Regions from separate parts of the Homo sapiens genome. Here region 2 is linked to region 1. The links are contacts of gene promoters, found by promoter capture Hi-C in blood cells and fetal thymus (Javierre and others, 2016). All regions are on one chromosome and are shown on one strand. Each heading gives the region's core, a stretch centred on a gene start or on the middle of the fragment in contact. The rest is flanking DNA. Distances are from core to core; before and after follow the strand shown. Region 1 holds the start of TMEM150A (transmembrane protein 150A). Region 2 overlaps POLR1A (RNA polymerase I subunit A).

Evidence for each region. Contacts are between HindIII fragments. The CHiCAGO score rates a contact against its expected background, and 5 or more counts as called.
Region 2: a fragment that was not itself captured here is called in contact with the fragment with the promoter of TMEM150A in region 1 in 4 of 17 cell types (monocytes, fetal thymus, erythroblasts and 1 more); the score reaches 7.6 in monocytes.

The regions. Positions count from the first base shown.
Region 1 is chr2:85,601,101-85,604,236 of GRCh38, reverse strand. It overlaps TMEM150A (transmembrane protein 150A), which reads left to right and starts at 1,539. Exons shown (of 8, transcript NM_001031738.3): 1 at 1,539-1,630; 2 at 2,173-2,353; 3 at 2,755-2,802; 4 at 3,130-3,136. The coding sequence starts at 2,289. It also overlaps a transcript of USP39 not described here. RefSeq lists silencers at 1,330-1,909, 2,010-2,069. The HindIII fragment of the contact is 3,378 bases long and covers 1-2,839 here.
Region 2 is chr2:86,080,078-86,083,213 of GRCh38, reverse strand. POLR1A (RNA polymerase I subunit A) reads left to right here. Exons shown (of 34, transcript NM_015425.6): 7 at 46-132; 8 at 1,508-1,613; 9 at 2,236-2,398. Among named protein-coding and RNA genes, the nearest start is that of POLR1A, 24 kb to the left of the region's middle. The HindIII fragment of the contact is 2,227 bases long and covers 773-2,999 here.

The DNA.
Region 1 (3,136 bases), core at 290-2,789:
TCTGTCTCAAAAGAAAAAGGGCTCTCCAACAGGTTTTCTGCTTCCATTTCTGCTTTCCACTGGGTCCAAGAAGGTTTCTCCCTCTTCAAGTCATTGTGCAGTTTATTCTGCTCTACTTCTCTAAAGCACAGGACCCTGTTGTTTCACATAGCCTTTGCCTCACCAGTGTTGCCAAACTTCAGCTCCCCACGCTGGGCAACCTGCGCCTGTGCACCATTCAGGTGATGATCTGTCATCTCACAAGGGCTCCAACAGATGCTGGGACCGCCTTTGAGACAGAATGCCAGGCACACTTCTGATATGTGAAAGTATTTCCACCCTTGCAATAATTTAAGAAACATCCGGGCCAGGCGCAGTGGCCCACGCCTGTAATCCCAGCACTTTGGGAGGCCGAGGCGGGCGGATCACGAGGTCAGGAGATCGAGACCATCCTGGCTAACATGGTGAAACCCCGTCTCTACTAAAAATACAAAAAAATTAGCCGGGTGAGGTGGCGGGCGCCTGTAGTTCCCAGCTACTCGGGAGGCTGAGGCAGGAGAATGGCGTGAACCCGTGAGGCGGAGCTTACAGTGAGCCGAGATCGCGCCACTGCACTCCAGCCTGGGCGACAGAGCGAGACTCCGTCTCAAAAAAAAAAAAAAGAAAAAGAAAAAGTAAAAAAAAAAGAAACATCCAGGAATGCACTCATAGCCTGTAAGTTTTTGGTGAAGCTGGTCAGTAATTTTTCCCACACTATCCTGTTTCCTTTTCCCAGATTCCTCCGGGTCTCTCACCTTCCCCTCTTTGCTTACCAACACTGGCCATGTTAATCCTTACCTACTCTACACTGACACCTACATGTGTCTATTTAGAATGGATGTCCTCTGGTCTCTGCCGTCTTATTTCAAATAAGTGTTGATCAGTCGGGAAACACGTCTTGGACACTGATTTCTGGCTAGTACATTGTGTACTTGTATGCAGGAAAGCAAAAAGTATCTAATGAAAGCAGCCCTCCTCCGGAGTTTGCTGAGCCACAGGAACCATAAGCCAAATCCCAGGCGCTTGGATTTCTTAAGAAACAGCCAAGTCTTTGTGTCTGCTTCTCTGGACCCACCGCAGCCCTGGCCAGAGGCAGGCATGGGGCGCCACGTTGAGAGAGCTTCCTAGAGGACTCACCGTTGGCCGGTGCAGGCTGCAAAATGTGCGCAGTGGCGGAGAGACGCTCCTCCAGCCATGTGCACGGCGACAATCCCAGGTAGAGCTGGAATGCAGGCTGCCCCGAGATCCCCACCTGCTGACGCTTCCCCGGCAGGAATCGGTTAAACGGAACCTCTAGTCATCTCGGTTTTAGAGCGGTCTTCACGCCACAGCCCTCCGCGCCCAGGTCCTCCGAAGTTGGGACACCGCCCACGTTTCCCCCGTGACGCGGGCGCGGGGGCTCGGGAGTTGTAGTCTCGGGCAGGGCGCGGGCACCGAGGCCGGGGCTGCGCGGACTCCACGTCCCGGCGGGCGGCGCGGCGAGGCCTGGGGCCTCCAGGGGCGGGGCCGCTCGGCCCTTTAAACCTTTCAGGGCTGCTCCGAGGGCCGCAGCTAGAGTCGGCGCCACGAGGGGGCCGAGCAGGGTGCGGCGGCGGCGGGGCGCTCCGGGGAGGTGCGTACTGGGCTCCTTCCCTTCCTCCGGGCTTCCAGGAATCACCTGGGGACTCTCGCGTCCCGGGTCCTGGGGGGTCGCCGGCCGCAGGGTCCGGCCCCAGCCGGGGTCCCCGCGCCCAGGCGAGCGGGGGCCGGGCCGGGCTGGGCTTTCCGCGTGAACCCGCCCCTCGCCCAGGGCGCCGATGGTCAGGTGGTTGCCTGCGCGCCGCCGACTCGCCACCGCTCCACTGGGCCGGCACCCAGCCTCTCCTTGGCGTGGCCTCTTCGGTTGTCCAGCCCTTCTCCCAGCCCTGGTCCCTCAGAAGGAGGGTAACTCCCTTCCAGATGTTACGGTCCGCCTGCGTCTCTCAGCACGCCGGTGGCATTTGGGTTGACCGCGGAGGCCCCCAGTGCCAGAGGGTGTTCACGTTCTGCCGTGGGCTCAGCCCAAACTTTGGACGCTCAGAGACCCAACGGGAGCGCTGGATAAGGTGTTGACCCCCTTCCCCTCCCCCTTCCCGGCCAGTTACCCACTCCTGGACTTTGATCTCTCTCCACCAGGCCAGGACAGCTGATGGTTGTGGCAGAAACATCTCAAGGTAGCTGGTCCGCCCCCACTTCCCCATCTACCTCTTGTCCTCCCCCCAACACCACCACCACCCTGGCTCCCCTCCCTCATGACCGCCTGGATCCTCCTGCCTGTCAGCCTGTCAGCGTTCTCCATCACTGGCATATGGACTGTGTGAGTAAAGGGGGGTGCCCGGGGGGCAACAGGAGCTTGATGACGCACACAAAGTCTCTTGTCCTGTCATAGCCACGGTGGTACCCAGGGTCACTCTGGGTGTCTCAAAAGCCTGACTTGGTGCCTGGGCACACAGCCCCTTGGGACAAGCTGGCACCACTGCTGTCCAGCAGGGTGGCCCTGACAAATATACTTCTAGCCAGGGCAATTTCCAGAGGGCCTGTAGCTGGGGGCATGCTGCAGGTGCTGGTGTGGCATCAAGCCTTAGGGACCTCAACTTGAGTCCCCAGCAACAATAATGAGGCTGAATGGGGCCAGAAATCAAGGTTGAAGAGAAGGGTCATGGGGTGGGTTGAGTGGGGCTCGGGAAGGCTGCCAGGGTGACAGTTCTGTTCCCACAGGTATGCCATGGCTGTGATGAACCACCATGTATGCCCTGTGGAGAACTGGTATGAAGGACTCTGCAGACAACCTTGCTCTAAAGCTTCCTTCATCTCTGTCCCCTCTTGGGCCTGAGGCTGCCACGAGCCAGACTGCAACCCTGAGCCTCACTGCTCTTCTCTGAAATTGGTCCCCAGGCATGGCTTCTTGCCACCTACCCACTTCCCACTATCCCTTTGCCCCTTTGGTTACTGCTTCAGGCGGGCACTGGGGAGTGGGATCTTCTGTCCCTGTAGGGGAGGTCTGGGAGAGAGTCCTCTTTGAGGCCTGAGGCTATAGGCCAAGGGCCTGGGGGCAGTCCCTTCCCCCAGTCTACTCCCTGTCCTGCCTGCCAGGTCCTAC
Region 2 (3,136 bases), core at 637-3,136, 480 kb before region 1:
CCTGTTTCTGATTTATTGCACTTTGATTCTCCTCCTTGGCTCCAGGAATTGAGGAAGCTCAGATAGGAAAACGAGGATACTTAACACCCACCAGTGCCCGCGAACACCTTTCTGCCCTGTGGAAGAATGAAGGTGCTGTATCAGGCTAAAGAAATAGCCTTGATCTTCTCTAGGCTTTTATTTCCTGGACTCATTAACCCTGCCTTATTACTTCTTTTAAGTTGTAGTGATTGTAGCTTCCTCCTGGAACTGATCCAGAGGTTTGGGGCAGTCTTCAGGGCACATTGACATTGAGTCATAGAGCAGGAGAGGTCATACCCAGCACCAAAAACTTGACAATTATCGCAGCTGAGCCTGGTTATGAAATGACAACTGCAGGTGGGCCTCACTTAATACAGGTTGGCATATTTTTAGAAGGTTCAGTGTAACTTATTTTAAATGCCCGTAAGTAAAATGCTTTGTCCTTCTGTGAATCAAAGAATGAACTCTGTCTTATTTAAATTGGGACTTTACTATAAGGGAAATCCTTCTTTCCTTTTGAGTGTATAACAAAACCTACGCAGTATATTCAAGCCCTTGTGAGAGTATGTTGTGGAACGCTGACTATAACCTCTGTGTAATAAGCGCTTACAAATGAACATGTTGTTAAAGAGGTATCAGAAAAAAAAAAAAGCACTGGAGTTAGTATGATTGCTTCTGTGGCAGGCCCTAGTACATTTTAATCTTTTTCTCTAGGCATTTTTTAAAGTAACCAGAAACCTGAAATAAAGCTTTGATCCACAGAAGATCCTTTCTTGGCAGTAACTGTTAGGGGTGGGAGGAGGCTAACTTAAAAAAAAATTTTTTTATTCAACATATTTTTTATGAAGATCAAAGTAATGATGTGTGTGCTGTCTGTGTTTTAATAGTCCAGGAGGGTGATTAAAAACAAGTGAAGTTTCTTCCCCATCCTTGCCCATCTCAGTCCCTGGTTTAAGAGCTATTGTCCCTGTAGTACCCATTTTTATGCTATCATATCCCCTGCATACAAACTGTCATGTACACAGGGGCTATTTTTTGTTTTTATAAAGAAAAATGAGGCCAGGCACGTTGGCTCATGCCTCCAATCACAGCAATATGGGAGGCTGAGGCAGGTGGATCAATTGAGCCCAGGAGTTCGAGACCAGCCTGGGCAACCAAGCAAAACCTCATCTCTTAAAAAAAAAAATACAAAAATTAGCTGGACATGATAGCACGCACCTGTAGTCCCAACTACTTGGAAGGCTGAGGTGGCAGGATTGCCTAAGCCTGGGAGATCAAGGCTGCAGTGAGTCATGATCGCACCACTGCACAGCAGCCTGGGCGACAGGAGTGAGACCTTTTCTCAAAAAAGAAAACTGTGACCTTAACTCTACATATTATCTTGTATTCTGTTTTTTCCTCACTCAGTAATATTTTTATGGTTGTCCTCCCATGCCCTTAGTGATAGATTTAAATGGTCTTCTTGGTTTATTTCTTTCCAACGCAGGATTCTTTCTGAACTACCTTTTTTCGGGAATGGATGATGATGGTATGGAATCCAGATTCAATCCCAGTGTGTTCTTTCTAGATTTCTTGGTGGTGCCGCCCTCAAGGTAATACCCTTTAATTAACTTATTTCACCTGAAAAAAAGCGTACTAAGGAACTGAAATGTGACCTCTAGGAGAGGTGAAAGGGCCAAGGGCACTGAGAGACAAAGCTGCAGTTCCGCTCCAGGTGCAGGTGGTGGGAGGGCTTGCTTTCCTTCCCGTTTGTTGTGAACGCAATAGGAATGTTGGTTGTTTTTGTTTGTTTGTTTTGAAGTGGAGTCTTGCACTGTCTCCCAGGCTGGAGTGCAGTGGCATGACCTTGACTTACTGCAACCTCTGCCTCCTGGGTTCAAGTGATTCTCCTACCTCAGCCTCCTGAGTAGCTGGGATTACAGGCACGCACCACCACACCCAAATAATTTTTGTATTTTACATAGAGATGGGGTTTCACCATGTTGGCCAGGCTGGTCTCGAACTCCTGACCTCCAGTGATCCACCTGCCATGGCTTCCCAAAGTACTGGGATTACAGGCTTAAGCCACCACACCCAGCCGGAATGTTGGTTAGGAAGGTTGGTTGTTTTGAGCATGGTGGGGTGTGCTCCCTACAGTAGGCATGGGTGAGAGGCTGAAGAACATGACCCTTTCCTCACACTAAACATTCATTTATTCCGTATGTCCCCCTGCAGGTATCGCCCAGTCAGTCGCCTAGGAGACCAGATGTTTACTAATGGCCAGACGGTGAACTTGCAGGCTGTCATGAAGGATGTAGTTCTGATTCGAAAACTTCTGGCATTGATGGCCCAAGAACAGAAGTTGCCAGAGGAAGTGGCCACACCCACTACAGATGAGGTCAGGGCTGCTCTGTTGCTGATGTGATGAGCACACATGCTTAGTGCTAACTCTGTGAGCTGTGGATGTAGACACTGGGTCTGGGAGATGCTTCCTGGGATGTTCTGTGCAGCTGGCAGCAGCCTTAGTGTGAGCTCTGGGCTTAGGGGGCACCTAGGAACATTAGGGGGACACACATGGGTCTGAGCATGGAAAGGTGTGGGTTCTGGTCTAGCTTCTACACCGAACGACCATGCCAGGTGACCCTAGTTGAGTCACTTCCTTATACTAGTGTCTGCTATAAAGTGCATGTGATTTGTGGTGAGATTTCACACCTAGGCTGTTCCGGGCTACCAGCTCTCGCAGCTCTAGAAAGAATAGCCTACTTCCCTCAGGCTTTAAGAGTGTCCCTTTTGGGTCACAGTACTAGAGCTCATGTTGCCAGCTCTATTTTGGACACGTTAATGTCTCCAGCATTGGGGTCAGGAAGGCAGTATTGCAGAGTGGAAATTCCTCTCAGAATAGGACAGTTTCAACTAACATTTCCTGAGCCCCATCTGTGTGCCGGGTTAATTAGTAGGTGTTCAGTGGGTACAAAGGTGAATTGGGCACCCAGGAAGCTTGCTGAGGTCATCAAGATCCTTCCCAGCTCTAAAGTACTCTCTGGATGCAAATAGGCAGCCTTGGGTAGACAGTCCGGGTTCTCAGACTCCAGCCGCTGCGACAGTCCCGCTGTCTGCCAGGCCCATCACAAGGTGG